Linked DNA regions of Homo sapiens: all the other regions are linked to region 4. The links are contacts of gene promoters, found by promoter capture Hi-C in blood cells and fetal thymus (Javierre and others, 2016). All regions are on one chromosome and are shown on one strand. Each heading gives the region's core, a stretch centred on a gene start or on the middle of the fragment in contact. The rest is flanking DNA. Distances are from core to core; before and after follow the strand shown. Region 1 overlaps BCL6B (BCL6B transcription repressor). Region 2 holds the start of FXR2 (FMR1 autosomal homolog 2). Region 3 has its middle 10 kb from the start of SLC16A11. Region 4 holds the start of NEURL4 (neuralized E3 ubiquitin protein ligase 4). Region 5 overlaps FXR2 (FMR1 autosomal homolog 2).

Region 1 (3,596 bases), core at 459-2,958, 300 kb before region 4:
GCGCTGGGCTACGTCCGCGAGTTCACTCGCCACTCCTCCGACGTGCTGGGCAACCTCAACGAGCTGCGCCTGCGCGGGATCCTCACTGACGTCACGCTGCTGGTTGGCGGGCAACCCCTCAGAGCACACAAGGCAGTTCTCATCGCCTGCAGGTTCGAGGGGTGGGGCCTGGGGCGGGGCCAAATGGGAAAGGGGTGGGACCACAGGGCCGTTGAGAGGGAATCCGAAGCCAAGTCTTTCAGAAGCAGGAGGCGGAGCGTCCCAGAATTGGGGGCGGGGTGATAGTGAGGAGGCGGGACTTTTTCAGGGGGCGGGGCTTCCTGAAGCTGCGCATGTCTCCCTTGGTTCCCCAGCCCCCAAAGGACTTATCTGCTCTCTCTCTAGTGGCTTCTTCTATTCAATTTTCCGGGGCCGTGCGGGAGTCGGGGTGGACGTGCTCTCTCTGCCCGGGGGTCCCGAAGCGAGAGGCTTCGCCCCTCTATTGGACTTCATGTACACTTCGCGCCTGCGCCTCTCTCCAGCCACTGCACCAGCAGTCCTAGCGGCCGCCACCTATTTGCAGATGGAGCACGTGGTCCAGGCATGCCACCGCTTCATCCAGGCCAGGTGAGGGACCCTGGCTCGGCGTTCTCTGTGGGTGAGGTGTTAAGGGCAAAGGCAGAGTTTAGGAAATGGCACTAACGTTCATCACACTTTCCCCAGCTATGAACCTCTGGGCATCTCCCTGCGCCCCCTGGAAGCAGAACCCCCAACACCCCCAACGGCCCCTCCACCAGGTAGTCCCAGGCGCTCCGAAGGACACCCAGACCCACCTACTGAATCTCGAAGCTGCAGTCAAGGCCCCCCCAGTCCAGCCAGCCCTGACCCCAAGGCCTGCAACTGGAAAAAGTACAAGTACATCGTGCTAAACTCTCAGGCCTCCCAAGCAGGGAGCCTGGTCGGGGAGAGAAGTTCTGGTCAACCTTGCCCCCAAGCCAGGCTCCCCAGTGGAGACGAGGCCTCCAGCAGCAGCAGCAGCAGCAGCAGCAGCAGTGAAGAAGGACCCATTCCTGGTCCCCAGAGCAGGTACAGAGTCTAGAACCTCAAGAATTTGTCAGAGCTGGCCTCAGCTAGAAGACAGAGTCATTGGGCCTTGATGGTCAGGAGGAAGGGAGATAGGTGGTGGGTTTCAGAGACACTAGCTCACCTTAAGGAGCTGGCCAGAGACCAGGTTTATTCAGCAGGGTGGCACTTGGGCAGTACAATGGATGTGGCTCATTGGTCAACAATATTGGCTCACCCTGAGAGGGCAGGCCTTTGGCTCCAAATTTCCCAGGAGAGAACCCCCACCCCTCAACCGTACAATCTCTTTTAACCCTTTCCTTGCCATCTGCCTAGGCTCTCTCCAACTGCTGCCACTGTGCAGTTCAAATGTGGGGCTCCAGCCAGTACCCCCTACCTCCTCACATCCCAGGCTCAAGACACCTCTGGATCACCCTCTGAACGGGCTCGTCCACTACCGGGTAAGAGCCCCTCTTTCTTGGCTTTTCTCCCGTGACTGCTCCAGGCAAGTTTGTGCCAAAAACTCTCCCAGAAAGGCCTATTCCAATGGTTCCTAAACTTTATTACAAATTAGAATCACCTAGGAAGCTTTTAAACTCCCACTGCCCAGGTCACACTCCATAGATTAAAATATCTGGACATGGGACGAGTCATCAGTATTTTTCTAAAGCTCTCCCAGTGCTTCCAATGAGCAGCAAAGTTTGAGAATTTCTGGCCTATCCCCTTTCAGAGCTGAATGGTCAGCCCAAAGCTTGTCAGGGCCTCTCTGGCAGGCTGTCATTCAGAGTGGTGCAAGTGAGGAGGAGATTTTAGCCAAGCATGGTGGCTCATGCCTGTAATGCCAGCACTTTGGGAGGCCAGTGCAGGAGGATCACTTGAATCCAAGAGCTCAAGGCCAGCCTGGGCAACATAGTCAGATGTGGTCTCTACAAAAAATAAAAATGAAAATTAGCCGGGCACGGTGGTGCACACCTGTAGTCCCAGCTACTCAGGAAGCTAAAGTGGAAGGATCGTCTGAACCCGGGAGGTGGAGATTGCAGTGAGCCGAGATCACACCACTGCACTCCAGCATAGGCAACACAGCAAGACTCTGTCTCAAAAAAAAAAAAAAAAAAAAAAACAGGAGGAGAAACAAAACTCCTCCCACTAGCAGGGGCCTCCACCTACCACCACTGCTTTTATTTTATTTATTTATTTTTTTGAGACGGAGTCTCACTCTGTGGCCAGGCTGAAGTGCAGTGCCGCAATCTCGGTTCACTACAACCTCCACATCCCAGGTTCAAGCGATTCTCCTGCCTCAGCTTCCCGAGTAGCTGGGACTACAGGCACGTGCCACCACACCCAGCTACTTTTTGTATTTTTAGTAGAGACGAGGTTTCACCATGTTGGCCAGGATGGTCTCCATCTCTTGACCTTGTGATCCGACCGCCTCGGCCTCCCAAAGTGCTGGGATTACAGTCGTGAGCCACCGTACCTGGCCCCCACCACTGCTATTGAAGAGGAGATTAGCTGAGTACTCGAGTCAGACAGATGTGCAGTCAGATCTGGCTCATCTTACTATCTTCTTACTTGGCCTTGAGCAAGTCAAACCAGCCCCAGAAGTCTTAACAATAAATTGGGAAACAGAAAGCCTGCTACTGTGTGGTTTGAGGATTCAGTAGTACCTAGATAGCCCTCATTAATAACTATGGTTGCCGTCACCCATTCCCCTTCCCAGGAAGTGAATTTTTCAGCTGCCAGAACTGTGAGGCTGTGGCAGGGTGCTCATCGGGGCTGGACTCCTTGGTTCCTGGGGACGAAGACAAACCCTATAAGTGTCAGCTGTGCCGGTCTTCGTTCCGCTACAAGGGCAACCTTGCCAGTCATCGTACAGTGCACACAGGTAGGGGAAGAGAGGGCCCTGGCCTTCAAGCCCACAGCTGTCCTAGGGCAAAGTCCCTGATCTCCCATGTTCTCTGCCTCCAGGGGAAAAGCCTTACCACTGCTCAATCTGCGGAGCCCGTTTTAACCGGCCAGCAAACCTGAAAACGCACAGCCGCATCCATTCGGGAGAGAAGCCGTATAAGTGTGAGACGTGCGGCTCGCGCTTTGTACAGGTACGGAGCCAGCCTCCAAGTGGCTTCCAAGGCAAACCTGCAAGAGGTGGGGTGGGCCAATAGGGAGGGTTCTGTTCCTCCCAGAGGCAGGACTTGAAGTCTCCTCCCTCCCAGGTGGCACATCTGCGGGCGCACGTGCTGATCCACACCGGGGAGAAGCCCTACCCTTGCCCTACCTGCGGAACCCGCTTCCGCCACCTGCAGACCCTCAAGAGCCACGTTCGCATCCACACCGGAGAGAAGCCTTACCACGTGGGTACCCAACCTGGCCTGCCCACTGCCTTAGAATTACCTCTCCTTTGCCTAGGGGTGGGCTCTGAGAGGTGCGGGCCTGGCTGTCCCTAGATCTCTTAGAAATGAGCGGTGGCCGGAAGAGTCCAAGCAAATAAGGGGTGGAGGCTGGGAGTCAGGATGGGCAGGTATAGAAGTGATGCTCCTGGGCTGAGCACTGTTTTCTCA
Region 2 (3,399 bases), core at 29-2,528, 290 kb after region 4:
TAAACAGAAGGGAACCTCATAAGCTTCCTTTCAGAGATCCTTTTAGAGATTATGACTATGAAGCTTACATGCCTCAAGACGAAGAAACTATATGAATGACCTGAAGGTATCTGAGGTCTAAGTGAGACCTCAAATCCATTCCTGAGTAGAATGGTAGAGCAGTGGGTCTTGAGATCAAGGTGTGGTGGGGAGAGAGACTTGCGAAAGATGCCACCTTATGGCTGGCTGGGAAGCAACTTGACTGATCCAACCCAGGGTTCCTGAGGTCAAAGATGCCAAACGTCGTAAATGGATCTGACCATTTCTCCTTGGCTTGGGAACCGGAATATAAGATGAAAGTGGGGTGAGTGTTCCAGAGCCAGTAGGCAGAGGCCTCTCTGAGGAAGATGAAAGGATCTTTTACGGGACAGAGGGCCTTCCCAAAGGGACCGTGTGGAAGAAAGACAATTCTCCATGTGCTTGGATCGTGGGGAAGATGTGATTAAGGTCTAAGGTATGTCTTCCACCAGACAACGGACACAGTCAATTAGAAGCTGGGTAAAGGGGTCTCTCCTGCGGAGCGGGGAGCGCCAAGCCAGGGACAATAATGGCCTGAAGTTCATTCTCCCGGAGATGGGGGTAGAAGCAGGTGCAGGTGCCTTAGAGGGGTCAAAAATAAGAGGAACAGGGTTCACTCTAAGCGGTCTCCCAGGGAAGGCTGCGGGTTGGAGCAAGGGTCCAAGATTCTAAGGGCCAGGACTCAGCTCCAGAAGCTCGATCCCGCCCCACGCGTTCCTGCTCCGGCCAGGGGAGGGGGCTAAGGACCGGCGTCCCCAGTCGGCGCGCCGTCTCACCTTGTAGAAGGCCCCGTTGGAGCCGCGCACCTCGACGGGCAGTCCCGGCTCCACATCCCCCCCAGAGGCCAGGCCGCCCATGGCGCCGCCACCGCCTCCGACTCCCCCGGCGGCGGCTGCAGCAGCAGTCTGAGTGCGGGCCGGGCCAGGCCCCCGGCGTCTCCCCGGAGGAGGAGCCGGAGGGGGAGCCGCGGGGGGCGGGAGCCGGGCCGGCCCCACGGCGGCCCTGCCACAGCCAACGAGCAGGGGGCCGGGGCCGGGCCGCTCCCCGTCCGCCGCCGCCGCCTTGGTCTCCGCCACCGTGAGGGAAACGGCCGCCGCCGCCGCTGCCTTCGTCACCTCAGCTTCCGCCCGCCGCCGCCCCCGCTGCTGCCTCAGTCCCGGGACCCGCTGCTGCCGCTGCCGCTCCACAGCCTCCACCTCCCCCTGCCACCGCCGCCTACTGCGCAGGCGCACCGGGCACCCGCCCGCTGCGCGCGGGGCCCCGAGGGCCACCGCGCAGGCGTCAAGGTTAGAGCCCCAGCTAGCGCCAGCTAGCGCATCGGGGCTTCCACATTCCCTTTCACTCTCTCACTCCCCCTCCTGGTCGCTTGCTAGCGCTTGCGCAGAACAAGATTAGCCTTCTTTCTTCACCGCTCCACCGCCCAGCCACCCCGTCTCTTCCTTTCCCCGCCCCACAACACTGAGAACCAACCAATCAGGGGGAGGGAGGGGCCGGGCTCGCTCAGTCCGATTGGGCGGCGTCCGCACAGTCACACAGCGCTCAGGCCACACCCACTCCGCCGCCGCTGGCCCCACCGGGCTTGGACAAGTTAGGGATGGGCATGCGCCTGAACGACTGCTTGGTCACTTTCCCCACCTTTGTCTTTCTTGGTGCGCACGCTCCAAAAAGAAAAAAAAAAGAAGAGGAGTCGCCGCAAGGAAAAAGGTGCTTGGTGCGCACGCGCTGAGCTTTACCCTCTTCGCGTATGCATCGCCGATATTTTAAGAATCTGTAACTCTCTACTGTAGTAGATTTAACAGTCATGGCTCTTACCTTGAAGAGATTGTGATACAATGAAAGTTTTGGCCGGGCGCGGTGGCTCACGCCTGTAATCCCAGCGCTCTGGGAGGCCGAGGCAGGTGGATCACCTGAGGTCCTCGGATCACCTGAGGTCAGGGGTTCGAGACCAGCGTGGCCAAAATGGTGAAACCCACCCCCCCCCCCACCCCGCATCTAATAAAATACAAAAATTAGCCGGGCGTGGTGACACGCGCCTGTAATCCCAGATACTCGGGAGGCTGAGGCAGGAGACTACCTTGAACCTGGGAGGCAGAAGTTGCAGTGAGCCAAGATCGCACCATTGCACTCCAGCCTGGGCGACAGAGCAAGACTCAGTCTCAAAAAAAAAAAAAAAAGAAAGAAAGAATAGAAAGAAAGCTTTAAGAATAGTTTCAGACGGGCGCTGTGGCTCACTCCTGTAATCCCAGCACTTTAGGAGGCTCAGGCGGTGGATCACTTGAGCCCAAAAGTTTGACACCAGCCTCAACAGGGCGAAACCCTGTTTCTACTAAAAATACAAAAATTAGGACGGGCGCGGTGGCTCAGGCCTGTAATCCCAGCACTTTGGGAGGCCGAGATCACGGGCGGGCGGATCACGAGGTCAGGAGATGGAGACCATTCTGGCCAACATGGTGAAACCTCGTCTCTACTAAAATACAAAAAATTAGCCGTGGTAGTTCCAGCTACTCGGAAGGAGTCCCAGCTACTCAGGAGGCTGAGGCAGGAGAATCGCTTGAACCTAGGAAGGTGGAGGTTGCAGTGAGTGGATATCATGCCACCACACTCCAGCCTGGGCAATGAGTGAAATTTCTTCTTTAAAAATAATAATAATGGCAGGGCGCGGTGGCTCATGCCTATAATCCCAACACTTTGGGAGGCCGAGACGGGCGGATCACGAGGTCAGGAGATCGAGACCATCCTGGCTAACACGGTGAAACCCCATCTCAACTAAAAATACAAAAAAAAAAAAAAAAAAAAAAAATTAGCTGGGCGTGGTGGCGGGCGCCTGTAGTCCCAGCTACTCGGGAGGCTGAGGCAGGAGAATGGCGTGAACCCAGGAGGCGGAGGTTGCAGTGAGCGGAGATCGTGCCACTGCACTCCAGCTGGGGCGACAGAGCGAGACTCCATCTCAACAACAACAACAACAAATAATAATAATAGTGGCCCGGCGCGGTGGCTCACGCCTGTAATCCCAGCACTTTGGGAGGCCAAGATGGGTGGATCACAAGGTCAGGAGTTCAAGACCAGCCTGGCCAACATGGTGAAACCCCATCTCTACTAAAAATACAAAAATTAGCTGGGCATGGTGGTGCATGCCTGTAAACCCAGCTACTTGGGAGGCTGAGGCAAGAGAATTGCTTGAACCTGGGAGGCAGAGGTTGCAGTGAGCCCAGATTGTGCCATTGCACTCCAGCCTGGGCAAAAAGAGCGACACTCTGTCTCAAAAAATAGTAATAATAATAATAAATAATGCTGGGGAAATTCAAAATAGGAAAAACTGTCATGAAATAAGGGTAGTAGCAG
Region 3 (3,239 bases), core at 713-3,212, 270 kb before region 4:
AAACTAATAATAATAAGGTGGAAATTTTCTTAAAGGCTTCAGATGCAAGAAGGCCAAAAATATCCTAAAACTGTGTAAGCCCAACTAAAATGGATTATTAGAATAGGAATGAGAATCCAATCGGACCTGGTGATTTTTTTTTTTTTTTTTTTTTTTTTTTGAGATGGAGTCTCCTCTGTCGCCCAGGCTGGAGTGCAGTGGCACGATCTCGGCTTACCACAACCTCCGCCTCCCGGGTTCCAGCGATTCTCCTGCCTCAGCCTCCTGAGTAGCTGCGACTACAGGCACCCGCCACCATGCCCGGCTAATTTTTGTATTTTTAGTAGAGACGGGGTTTCACCATATTGGCCAGGCTGGTCTCGAACTCCTGACCTCGTGATCCACCCACCTCGGCCTCCCAAAGTGCTGGGATTACAGGCATGAGCCACTGTGCCCAGCCAGACCTGGTGAGTTATTAAAAGCACAGTCCCTGAGTTCCGACTCCCACCATTTCCAGGCATCTATAAAAAGGGGGCAATGCTTCAAAGGATTGTTGGTGAGACTTCAGTGAAGTAAAGCTTGGGAAGGACCCAGCACAACTCCAGGCACAGGGCAGGCGTCCTACAAATGTAGGTTCCCATCCATTTCATTCCATCCCATTTTCTAGCCACCGGTAGCCACCCTTTCATCTCTACGCCAGTCCAATTCTACTCCAAGTCACTATGCCCCTCCTGTCTGGATTTGTGAGGGGCAGTCAGACCAGAAGGGGCCAGAAGGTGATATTTGTCATCTCCCTGCTGCTATACCAACCTCTCAGCTACCTGAGTTTTTTGGGTCCCTTTGTCTGCCTTCCCAGCCTCAGCCTGAGACCTGGGCATCTGACTTGAAGGATGCAGGCTCTTAGTGGACATGGTAACCCACATCAGCCCTTAGGGCTGCAGCAGCCCTGCCTGGCCAGAGTCTCTACCTCCCCAAGGAATATCAACCAGGACCAGAAGCCAAGGCAGGAGGGGACAGGAGGTCAGATAACAGGTTTTCTGCAGGGATGTAAATTACACATCTTGGAGGATCTGACATATGCAAGGCAGAGTTTTGGGGGCCCAGTAAGCAAATGGTGCCTGTTTTCTTGCCCCAAGGCAGAAATGCCTTTGTGAACACTGGGAGGAGTCGCGTGGGGGCTAAGCCCTGAGAAAGTCCCAAAGTCATAGAAGGGCCCAGACGCTGAAGAGGCTGCAACTGGCTGCAGTGGATGCCACACAAGCCTCTTCCTGTCCTTGTGCAGGTGGATCTTGTCCCTCCCAGTGCGTTCCTTTCTGTACCTCTTGTTGGCCATGAATCTCCTTTGCCCCTGCCCACATCTCCATGCCATTTCCTCTGCAAAGCTTTCTCCTGCCTCTCCCCTACTGTCAAAACGTTTTAAATGCTGGGCAGCATCTCTTCTTTAGGGTTCCTTCCCTCTATCCCATTCAAAGAGCCATACCCAGCTTTAGCTACCTCCATCTCAAGCTTTCATCCTATCTTTCTCTCCTCCATTCACAATCAGGAGTCCCTTGCAATGAGACCGATTCTGGTTTAAAACACATTTGTGAGGGACGGGTGTCATGGTCTCACCTGGAGGGAAATCACACCTGCACAGGCCTACAGAGAGGTGAGGCGGGGCCTCGGGCATCTCATCAACTGGGTACGTAGAAAGAGGACTCTGATTTTTTTTTTTTTAGATGGAGTCTCATTCTGTCACCCAGGCTGGAGTGCAGTGGCGCAATCTCTGCTCACTGCAACCTCCGCCTCCCAGGTTCAAGCAATTCGCCTGCCTCAGCCTCCCGAGTAGCTGGGATTACAGGCACATGCCGCCATGCCCGGCTAATTTTTTGTATTTTAGTAGAGACAGGGATTCACCGTGTTACCCAGGCTGGTGGTGAACTCCCAAGCTCAGGTAATCCACCTGCCTCGGCCTCCCAAAGTGCTGGGATTACAGGCTTAAGCCACCATGCCCGGCCGAGCACCCTGATTTATGGGTAATCAGCTTCCCCTTCCCTGGGCCCAGGGATCTGGGAGATAGGAAGTTGATGCCACCGCCCCAAGAGCTGATGTTTCAGGACTGTGGCCAGTGAGTGCTGAACACAGTGAGCAGCAGAGTGGGCTGACACCTGAGCTCCAGGACTCATAAAGCCCCGCTGTTCTTGCATGGCATGTGGTTTCTGGGTTTATTTCCCTGTTGTCCTTGAGGAGAGTATATTTATTCCCTAAGTATGCAGGGCTTAGGGCTAAAAGCATTCCCCATGCTTACAGAAATGCTAGGGATATGAAAAAGTGTACCGATTTCCAAATACAAAAGGCAAACTTAAAAATCTAAAGTAATGAATATTAAAGCGTTTTTAAAAATGTCTACAAAACATAATATTAGTCCATTTCTTTGTTAAATTTCATGTTCCTAAATTTTCATTACATTGGAAAACAATTTGAAGCTTTTTTTCACTTTGCAGGATTTCCTAAATGTTTATCGTGATTGCTGAGAAATCAGAGCCAATCATAGATTCACTGAGTTTCTTATAGACAAACAATCCTTTAAAAGAATAAACGTCCTTTTAAGATTTTAAACGGCAAAAAATCTTAGAAATCTTTTAAATTTTTGGGCCGGGCACGGTGGCTCACGCTTGTAATCCCAGCACTTTGGGAGGCCGAGGTGGGCGGATCACGAGGTCAGGAGATCGAGACCATCCTGGCTAACAGGGTGAAACCCCATCTCCACTAAAAACACAAAAAAATTAGCCGGGTGTAGTGGCGGGCACCTGTAGTCCCAGCTACTCGGGAGGATGAGGCAGGAGAACGGAGTGAACCCAGGAGGCGGAGCTTGCAGTGAGCAGGGATCGCACCACTGCACTCCAGCCTGGGCGACAGAACAAGACTCCGTCTCAAAAAAAAAAAAAAGAAATCTTTTAAATTTTTAATTGTAAAAATATATTTAGTGTGGAATGTGAGTGTATTTTAGTATATGTTATTAAGAGGCAACATAACATGGTGGGACAAACACGAACCCTGGAACCAGATTGTCTGGGTTCAAGCCCTGGCTTTGGTACTTACTGGCTATATAACCTAGAGCAAGTTATTCAACCTCTCTTTGCAATAGTTCCCTCATCCCCAAAGCAAATTATAATAGTTCCTACTTTTGAGGAAAAAAAAGATGGTAATTGCTATGATCTTAATGTTTGTGCCTCTCCCCGTCAAATTCATATGTTGAAATCTAATCCCAGGCCGGGTCC
Region 4 (3,473 bases), core at 843-3,342:
TGGGATGGGAGGGGAATAAGGGTTCAGTCCCTGCTTCACGGCCCATAGCCAGGAGAACCCCCCATCCTCTAGCTCCTGCTCTCCCATTCAACAGACTTGGGGATCAGGGTGGCCCTGCCCACACCCAGCCTGTCTTGTCACTCTATTTCCCCCATTCCGTCCCCACCCCACCACCACTGCCCTAGCTGTGTTCTCACCTTCATCTGCAGAGGTCCCCTGTTCAGCCAAGGCAGAGTCTTCAGTGGGGGCCAAGGGCTCGAGGGGAGGTGTGGGGATGGGAGTAGGGGGGCTGAAGCCTGGCTCAGGGGGTAGCACGGTGATCTGGGTGCACTTGCCATAAAGGTCCACGACGGCCCAGACACGAGGGGGCAGGCCTGTGGCAGCCACACCGCAATCCCGCCCATTCACCCAGAGCCGAAGCTCCCCAGCAACTGTGCGCTCCACGCCCACGCGGTCCCCTTCACCAAGCTGGTCCAGGTCCTGACCATACTCCTCCAACACAGAGCGTCCATCTCTCAGCACAGAGCAGCCCGACACTACCCACGAGCCCCCCTTCAGGCCCGTGGCACTGCTTGGAAAGTCCAGCACACTGGGGTCCAGCGCTGTCACCCCAATCTCAATGGAGCCGCTCCAGGAGTTGACCTGGGATAGGGGTATTGGACAGAGGCTTAGAATGGGCCACCCCCCATTCCACAGGCCACCATATCTTCCCACCTCTCAGACAGCTAGCTGGCTTTCTGTCTCTTGGAACACTAATCCAGAGATGCAGACAGTGATTTTCTGGACTCCGTCTTGGTAATTATTTGGGCTTTCCTTTAGCAACTCTGCTCTCTACTCAGTGTTTACTAAACCACTCCTTTCCAAGCCAAGCACAAATTCCTTGGTTCCAACCTCCTGCCTCCTCTAACTTTCCTTGTCTCTATGGCTCTCCAACCATCCAAATTCTCCTACTTCCTATACCCACACCTCTTGCTCTTGTGTATCATTCATTCCTTTCCCCTGGCCTAATTCTCTCCAAAGATCAGGCTCTACCCAGATTCAATCTCCTTCCAAGTTCTTTTTCTGTGAGCCTGGCCTCTTCACTGAATCACACACACCTCCCTCACCCTGGATCTTTCTCCTCACCTATCTTTCTGGCACAGCCTCTGTCCTTCAATGGTTTGTTCTGTTTTTTTGAGACGGAGTCTCACTCACTCTATTGCCCAGGCTGGAGTGCAATGGCATGATCTCAGCTCACTGCAACCTCTGCCTCCCGGGTTCAAGCCATTCTCCTGCCTCAGCCTCCAGAGTAGCTGGGATTACAGGCGCACGCCACCATGCCTGGCCAATTTTTGTATTTTTAGTAAAGACGGGGTTTCACCACGTTCACCAGGCTGGTCTCAAACCCCTGACTCTAGTGATCCGCCCGCCTCGGACTCCCAAAGTGCTGGGATTACGTTTGTTCGTTCCTTGGCATCTTTCTTCACTTGCCATCACATCTCTGACATCTCTCCATCCTCCATGCCCAAGAAATTGTACCAGGAGGTCTGTTCCCAGCCATTCTAGTGGGTTAGCCCTCGTGTCCCTTCCCTGGTTCTGGATCTTGAGAAAACTCAAGCTCTTAATGTCATCTTCAAACTCAATGTTTCTGCTTCATGCTGTCTTCCTGACCGCCCCCTGGTGCTCTATGGTCTTTCTGTTCCCTCTCGGTGCCCGGCAATGTGGGCTACCCTGGCTGTCCTACCCCGTCTCCCTCTAGACGCCTCCCACCACCCTCCACATCTCTGTTCCGCGGTACCAGCGCTGCACCTTGCGGTCGATGCGGACGGTGAAGACGCGTCCATCGCGCAAGGGTTCTCGGCTCAACACCAGCCCGTGGTTAAACTCCTGGCCCGGCTGCTGCCGCCGCGCCGTACGCCCACAGGCCGACAGGCTCACCAAGCGCCCAGTGCGCGGGTGCAGTTCCCCGCCGCTGCCCAGACCCCCGTTGGACCCCGGTCCTGAGCCGCTCCCGCTGGGGCCCCCACCCCCGCCCGGCCCCGGTCCAGGGCCTCCCCCAGAGCCCCCACTCCCACCCGACCCTGCCGCCATCTCCGCTGACACCGGGGCAGCGCGACAGCCGCGCTTGGCGGCACCGTGGCAACCGCGTCGGGCAGACAGTCCGAGGGATACGACCGGGGGGCTGAGGCCAGGTATGCTTTACGGCACTGCCGGGCAATGAAGCAGCCCGCGCTAGGAGCTGGGGACGACCACGATGAGAACAGAAGGACACGGGGTCGGGAGCCTCGCTTTACGGCATAGCGAGGTGACGGAGCGGCTCCGAGGGGGACGAAGACCTGGGCAGGGAGCTTTTGCGACAGTGGGAGAAAGACACGCCCACCGCAGGCATCTTTACGACGGTGGGGTGCTGGAGCCCAAACACTTTCTGCTTTGCGACAGCGGCACCGACGACCCCGCCCTCGCTAGGGGGCGGTGACACCTTGAAGCACTCGCTTTACGGCAAGAGGGGGTGTCTCCCCTCGGGATGCAGGCTCCAAAGCAGCGTGAGCCGAGTCTGGAGGACCCAGAGAAGCGGTAGTGAAAGTCTCTTCCCGCCACCCGACTGAGGACGAAGTGTCTTGCAACAGTGCGGCAGTCCTTCCACTTTGCCTCACACCTCTTCTGATTGGCTGAGCTAGCCGACTGGCGGGGGTGGGGGAAGCTCGCTGATAGTTCAAGTCAAGCCCAGCTTCAACTCCAACTCAACCAAACTATTCCATGTTAAGACCACAAAGAGTCTAAAGAAGTCCCGACAGGCCGTTTCAAGCGACAGCGTTGATGACCCCAAAAGATCTCCCTTAGAGCTATTAACAAGCCCCCTGCCCAACTCCCCGAAGCTCAAGCTCAGGCTGGAGGACCGTGAGGTCACAGTCGAAGCTCCTGGCCTGGCCCCCTGACTGGGATTGGCTGGTTTGGATGAGGGTGGTGATGGAGAAGGGCGGGAACAAATTGCCCAGACAAAGAAAATCTTTGGGTGGGACACAAAGGAAAGGGGCGAGCGGAGGGACCCCCAGCCCGAGTCTCTATATAGTCTTGATTCCGCCCGCCGCAGCTCTGGAGCAGGGGAGAAGTGGACCCGGGACTGAGCCCGAGCATCCCCGGCCGGCAGCGGTGGGGGCGGGGCCAGGGGCGGGGCTACGTGGAGCCGGGAGGCGGGTCAGGATCGCTGAGAGCAGCCCCCCAGTGGGGCCATGGAGAAGGTGGAGTCCCTAGGGGCTGCTGGCGGCCTCAACCGGGATTCCCCTGGAGGGGCAGCCAGAGGAGTGCCCGCAGCGGTCACAGGAGTCGAGGCAGGCGCTGGGCAGCCCTCCAGAGTAGTCTTGTTTCACGGTTCTGGGCCCCACGTGCACTCAGGGGGCTCCGTAACTCATAGTACTGGTTCAAGCTGTCCCTCCGGGGGGATAGTGGTCCTTGGTTCCGGGCCCAGTCAGCACCCAAGGGAGGCTGCGAACCAC
Region 5 (3,798 bases), core at 612-3,111, 270 kb after region 4:
TCTGAATCAACCGGGGGCTCTGGTTCAGACGTGTCCAATAGGCTGTAGGGATTACTGTCTGGATCCTTCAGCACTGGTCAGAGGAAGAAGAGGAGGAGTTGGCAGTCAGGTGCCCATCATCTTTCCTTTTGGCCCATATTCATGAACCCAGCTGTCTGGTACCTGAGCTAATAGATGAAGAATTGTATCTCGAAGTGGGCCGGGGGGCAGGTGGGGGTCCCCTACCCCGGCCCCCAGTCGGCCGCCTCCGGCTTTCTTCCCCTCGGGTTGGGGGATCCCTGTCGCCAGGCCCAGCTCGGTTGGGCTCCTCTCTCTTCTCTGACTCAGTCTCTGAAGCTGTAGACACATCTGAGCTGGGGCCTGAAGAACACAATGGGATTTATTCACGGCCATTCATCCCACCTCAGGATCCATCACATCCCCCAAACTGGAAGAATTCTCCTTCTCACTCACAAGCCTCCCAGCCAATCAATCACTTTTTCATCATCTCCATTCCAGATTTCCCCAAACTTCCATCCAGACCTCTGCCTCTACCCACAAGCCCTGCCACTCCTTGCCTCCTGTTCCCATAACTGTCTCACCATAGGCAGGACCGCCTGTCCTCCGGCCACGGCCACGGCCCCCATAGCTGCCCCCATAGGTTCGAGTCGCATGGAGGGAGGAGGAGGAGCTCTCATCAGTGCTATATCCAGCCTTGTCGCTGCCACCGCTGCCCCGCCCACTCCCAGGAGGGCGAAAGCCCAGCCCAATCTGCCGAAGCTGCTCATCAATTTGTAGCCTCTCCAAGCGAAGCTGCTCTACCTCCTGGTTGGGTAAAAGATGGAAGAAGGGGAAGGAGAAATAAGATCAGTGCCTTGCTTCATGCTTCTGCACCCTGACTGTCCCTCTATATCTAACCTCTCAGGAATGCAGGGAGAAGGAAGACACTGGCTAAACAAGGAAAATTCTGGGACCCAACCCTATAGCCCCAAATTTCCACAGATGTTTTCTGTTCTACACGGAGAGACAAACAGAGAACCAAAATCCCTGAGCTGACCCCCACAGCAGTCTTAGTTCCCTTTTCACACCCAGCATTTTTCTCTCCCGGCCTGGGTACCTGCAGGTAGGAGAGGTGATACTCCAGCAAAGCCTGGGCATTGCTGATGTTCTCTCGGGTGCCAACAAAAATGAAGGGAACCATTCCCTAGAGAACAGAGAGCAGAAACGATGGATCAGAAAGGAAAATGAAATGGAAGGATTAACGCCGCCCAGTCTCCTAGGGGAGCCTGCCCAGTGGGATCATTCTGGGCTCTAAATCTACTAGTGTTAAACAACTTTCCGTACTCCACCCTCTCAAAGAACAATCCCAGCCCTCAGAGGACAATCCCATTTACTTCTGGAAACCAATCTCTATGCCCACTTGCCCCGTACCCATACCTCCTCCCTGGGGTTCTTCTTGTCATTATCACCTTCCACTCGAACCCTCACCACACCAGATTTATCCACAATCTCCTGGATCACTTTCCCGTTCTTTCCAATCACTTTGCCTGGAATAGGTAAATGAGGAATTCAGCCTTTTATTTTTTTTAAGGAAATAAGAATAAAGCTGATACACCGTCTTCCAGCCTCATTTTCTTTATATGGATTCCATTTACTTCATTCTCCTGCTTCTAGGTTTCTGATGTGTTTTTACAGGACAAAATGTTACAATCCCTAGAAATTTATTCTTTCATTTTTATCACTCCCATTACAGACTGTTTCTCTGTCCTTGTGAAACTGGGAGTCCACAGGGAGGTGCCAATCCTGGATAAAAGCTCAGAATCACTGTAGAGAATCTTGATTCTGACCTCTAACTGTATATACACACCACCAACTCACCAACCAGGTTCCTGGGCACTTGCACTGAGTCCTCAGAAAACTCAAGGTAGCTTCGGGCCTGTCGGCAAGCCTCGGGAGTCTAAAGGAAGAACAGCAGGGAGTTGTTACTAAAACAGAAGACCAGCTGGATGTGGTGGCTCACGCCTGTAATCCCAGCACTTTGGGAGGCTGGAGGCAGGTGGATAAATTGAGCTCAAGAGTTCAAGACTAGCCTGGGCAATATGGTGAAACGCCATCTCTACTAAAAATACAAAAATCAAAATACAAAAATACTAAAATACTAAAAATACAAAATTGGTGGCTCACGTCTCTAATCCCAGCTACTCCGGAGGCTGAGGCAGGAGATTTCTTGAACCCAGGAGGCAGAGGTTGCAATAAGCTGAGATTGTGCCACTGCACTCTAGCCCGGGCAACAGAGTGAGTTAGACTCCATCTCATAAAAAAAAAAAATTAAACAAATAAATAACTTAAAAAAAAAAACAGAGGACCTTGGCCAGGCACAGCGGCTCACACCCATAATCTCAACAGTTTCGGAGGCTAAGAAGGGAGGATTGCTTGAGGCTAGGAGTTAACAACCAGCTTGGGCAACAGAGATCTGGTCTATTTTTTTGATTTTTTGGTCTCACTCTATTGACTATGTTGCCCAGGTTGGTTCAGTGGCACCATCATGGTGTACTGCAGCCTTGACTTTCCAGGCTCAAGTGATCCTCCTGCCTCCGCCTCCCAAGTAGCCAAGTAGCTGGGGCCACAGATGCATGCCACCACGCTCAGTTAACGTTTTTTGGTTTTTGGTTTTTTTGGGGGGTAAAGACAGGGTCTCTCTATGTTGTCCAGGTTGTTCTCCAACTCCCAGGCTCAAGTGATCCTCCCCTCTATCTTCCCATTTCAGCCTCCCAAGTACCTGCGACTACAGGTACGCACCACTACTTCCAGCTAATTTTTAAATTTTTGTAGAGATTGGGTCTCACTATGTTGCACAGGCTGGTCTCAAACTCCTAGGCTCAAGTGATCCTCTCACTTTGACCTCCGAAGGTGCTGGGATTACAGGTGTGAGCCACTGTGCCCAGTTTGAGGCTTATTTTCTACTTCGGCCTCTCTTCCCTCTATCCCCTAAGAGACCCAGAAGAAAGACATCCTTTGCTGACCTCCCCATAGATGCGGAAAGTGCAGGTCTCTTCACCCAACTCAATGGCGGTCACCCCAGGTACTTTTCGGGCCTGCTGGATGTTGGCACCGTGAGTCCCAATTGCCAGTCCCATCAGGTCCTCTCGCACTGTGAACTCCTCTTGGAAGGCTGCTGCCAACTGCTTGCTTGTCTGAAAGGAAAAGTCACTGTAGGAATCATGGTGGTAGAATCTCACAGTCCCAGGCACACGACCCTTTGCATAACTTAAATAAGGAAAACTGTGTGATATTAATAGAAAGCTAGAACCACTCTGGAGTCCGCGGACCACGAGGACCTGTGTGGAAAGGTCAGGAACTTTTTGTTTTTTCTTTGAGATGGCGTCTCGCTCTGTCGCCCAGGCTGGAGTGCAGTGGCGCGATCTCAGCTCACTGCAACCTCCGCCTCTCGACTTCAAGTGATTCTCATGCCTCGGCCTCCTGAGTAGCTACGACTACAGGTGTCCACCACCATGCCTGGCTAATTTCTGTATTTTTAGTAGAGACAAGGTTTCACCATGTTGGCCAGGCTGGTCTCAAACTCCTGACCTCAGGTGATCCGCCCGCCTCAGCCTCCCAAAGTGCTGGGATTACCGGCATAAGCCACCACGCCCGGCCAAGGTCAGGAACTTTTAATTCCACTCCTTCCAAATACCAGTGGTTTGTGGGGGAGGAAAGGTAAAGAGGGCAGAGTTTGGACTGGGACACACCGAAGTTCTGGATTTGGCCCTAACAGTATCTGTCCCTAAGAGTATCTATCTGTGTGATCTTAAACAAAAC

Evidence for each region. The method cuts DNA at HindIII sites, captures the fragments that hold promoters and counts their contacts. A CHiCAGO score of 5 or more calls a contact.
Region 1: a contact is called between a fragment that was not itself captured here and the fragment with the promoter of NEURL4 in region 4, in 2 of 17 cell types (naive B cells and monocytes). The highest score is 7.4, in naive B cells.
Region 2: a contact is called between the fragment with the promoter of FXR2 here and the fragment with the promoter of NEURL4 in region 4, in 9 of 17 cell types (fetal thymus, naive CD4 T cells, total B cells and 6 more). The highest score is 8.4, in fetal thymus.
Region 3: a contact is called between a fragment that was not itself captured here and the fragment with the promoter of NEURL4 in region 4, in 8 of 17 cell types (M0 macrophages, naive B cells, monocytes and 5 more). The highest score is 8.6, in M0 macrophages.
Region 5: a contact is called between a fragment that was not itself captured here and the fragment with the promoter of NEURL4 in region 4, in 15 of 17 cell types (activated CD4 T cells, naive B cells, total CD4 T cells and 12 more). The highest score is 13.1, in activated CD4 T cells.

What each region holds. Positions count from the first base shown.
Region 1 is chr17:7,023,699-7,027,294 of GRCh38, forward strand. It overlaps BCL6B (BCL6B transcription repressor), which reads left to right. Exons shown (of 9, transcript NM_181844.4): 2 at 1-152; 3 at 385-606; 4 at 703-1,065; 5 at 1,378-1,502; 6 at 2,759-2,923; 7 at 3,007-3,137; 8 at 3,252-3,389. Among named protein-coding and RNA genes, the nearest start is that of BCL6B, 2.4 kb to the left of the region's middle. The HindIII fragment of the contact is 163 bases long and covers 1,628-1,790 here.
Region 2 is chr17:7,613,619-7,617,017 of GRCh38, forward strand. FXR2 (FMR1 autosomal homolog 2) reads right to left here and starts at 1,279. Exons shown (of 17, transcript NM_004860.4): 1 at 834-1,279. The coding sequence starts at 914. It also overlaps a transcript of SHBG not described here. RefSeq lists silencers at 834-1,363, 1,474-1,523. The HindIII fragment of the contact is 2,190 bases long and covers 62-2,251 here.
Region 3 is chr17:7,052,756-7,055,994 of GRCh38, forward strand. No RefSeq gene overlaps it. Among named protein-coding and RNA genes, the nearest start is that of SLC16A11, 10 kb to the left of the region's middle. The HindIII fragment of the contact is 959 bases long and covers 1,484-2,442 here.
Region 4 is chr17:7,327,243-7,330,715 of GRCh38, forward strand. NEURL4 (neuralized E3 ubiquitin protein ligase 4) reads right to left here and starts at 2,093. Exons shown (of 29, transcript NM_032442.3): 1 at 1,789-2,093; 2 at 198-642. The coding sequence starts at 2,070. RefSeq lists enhancers at 1,366-2,025, 2,008-2,302, 2,238-2,417, 2,448-2,497, 3,378-3,473 and a silencer at 1,798-2,037. The HindIII fragment of the contact is 8,367 bases long and covers 1-3,473 here.
Region 5 is chr17:7,592,822-7,596,619 of GRCh38, forward strand. It overlaps FXR2 (FMR1 autosomal homolog 2), which reads right to left. Exons shown (of 17, transcript NM_004860.4): 8 at 3,003-3,173; 9 at 1,858-1,936; 10 at 1,417-1,526; 11 at 1,097-1,183; 12 at 582-804; 13 at 163-360; 14 at 1-73. Among named protein-coding and RNA genes, the nearest start is that of SOX15, 4.6 kb to the left of the region's middle. The HindIII fragment of the contact is 5,554 bases long and covers 1-3,798 here.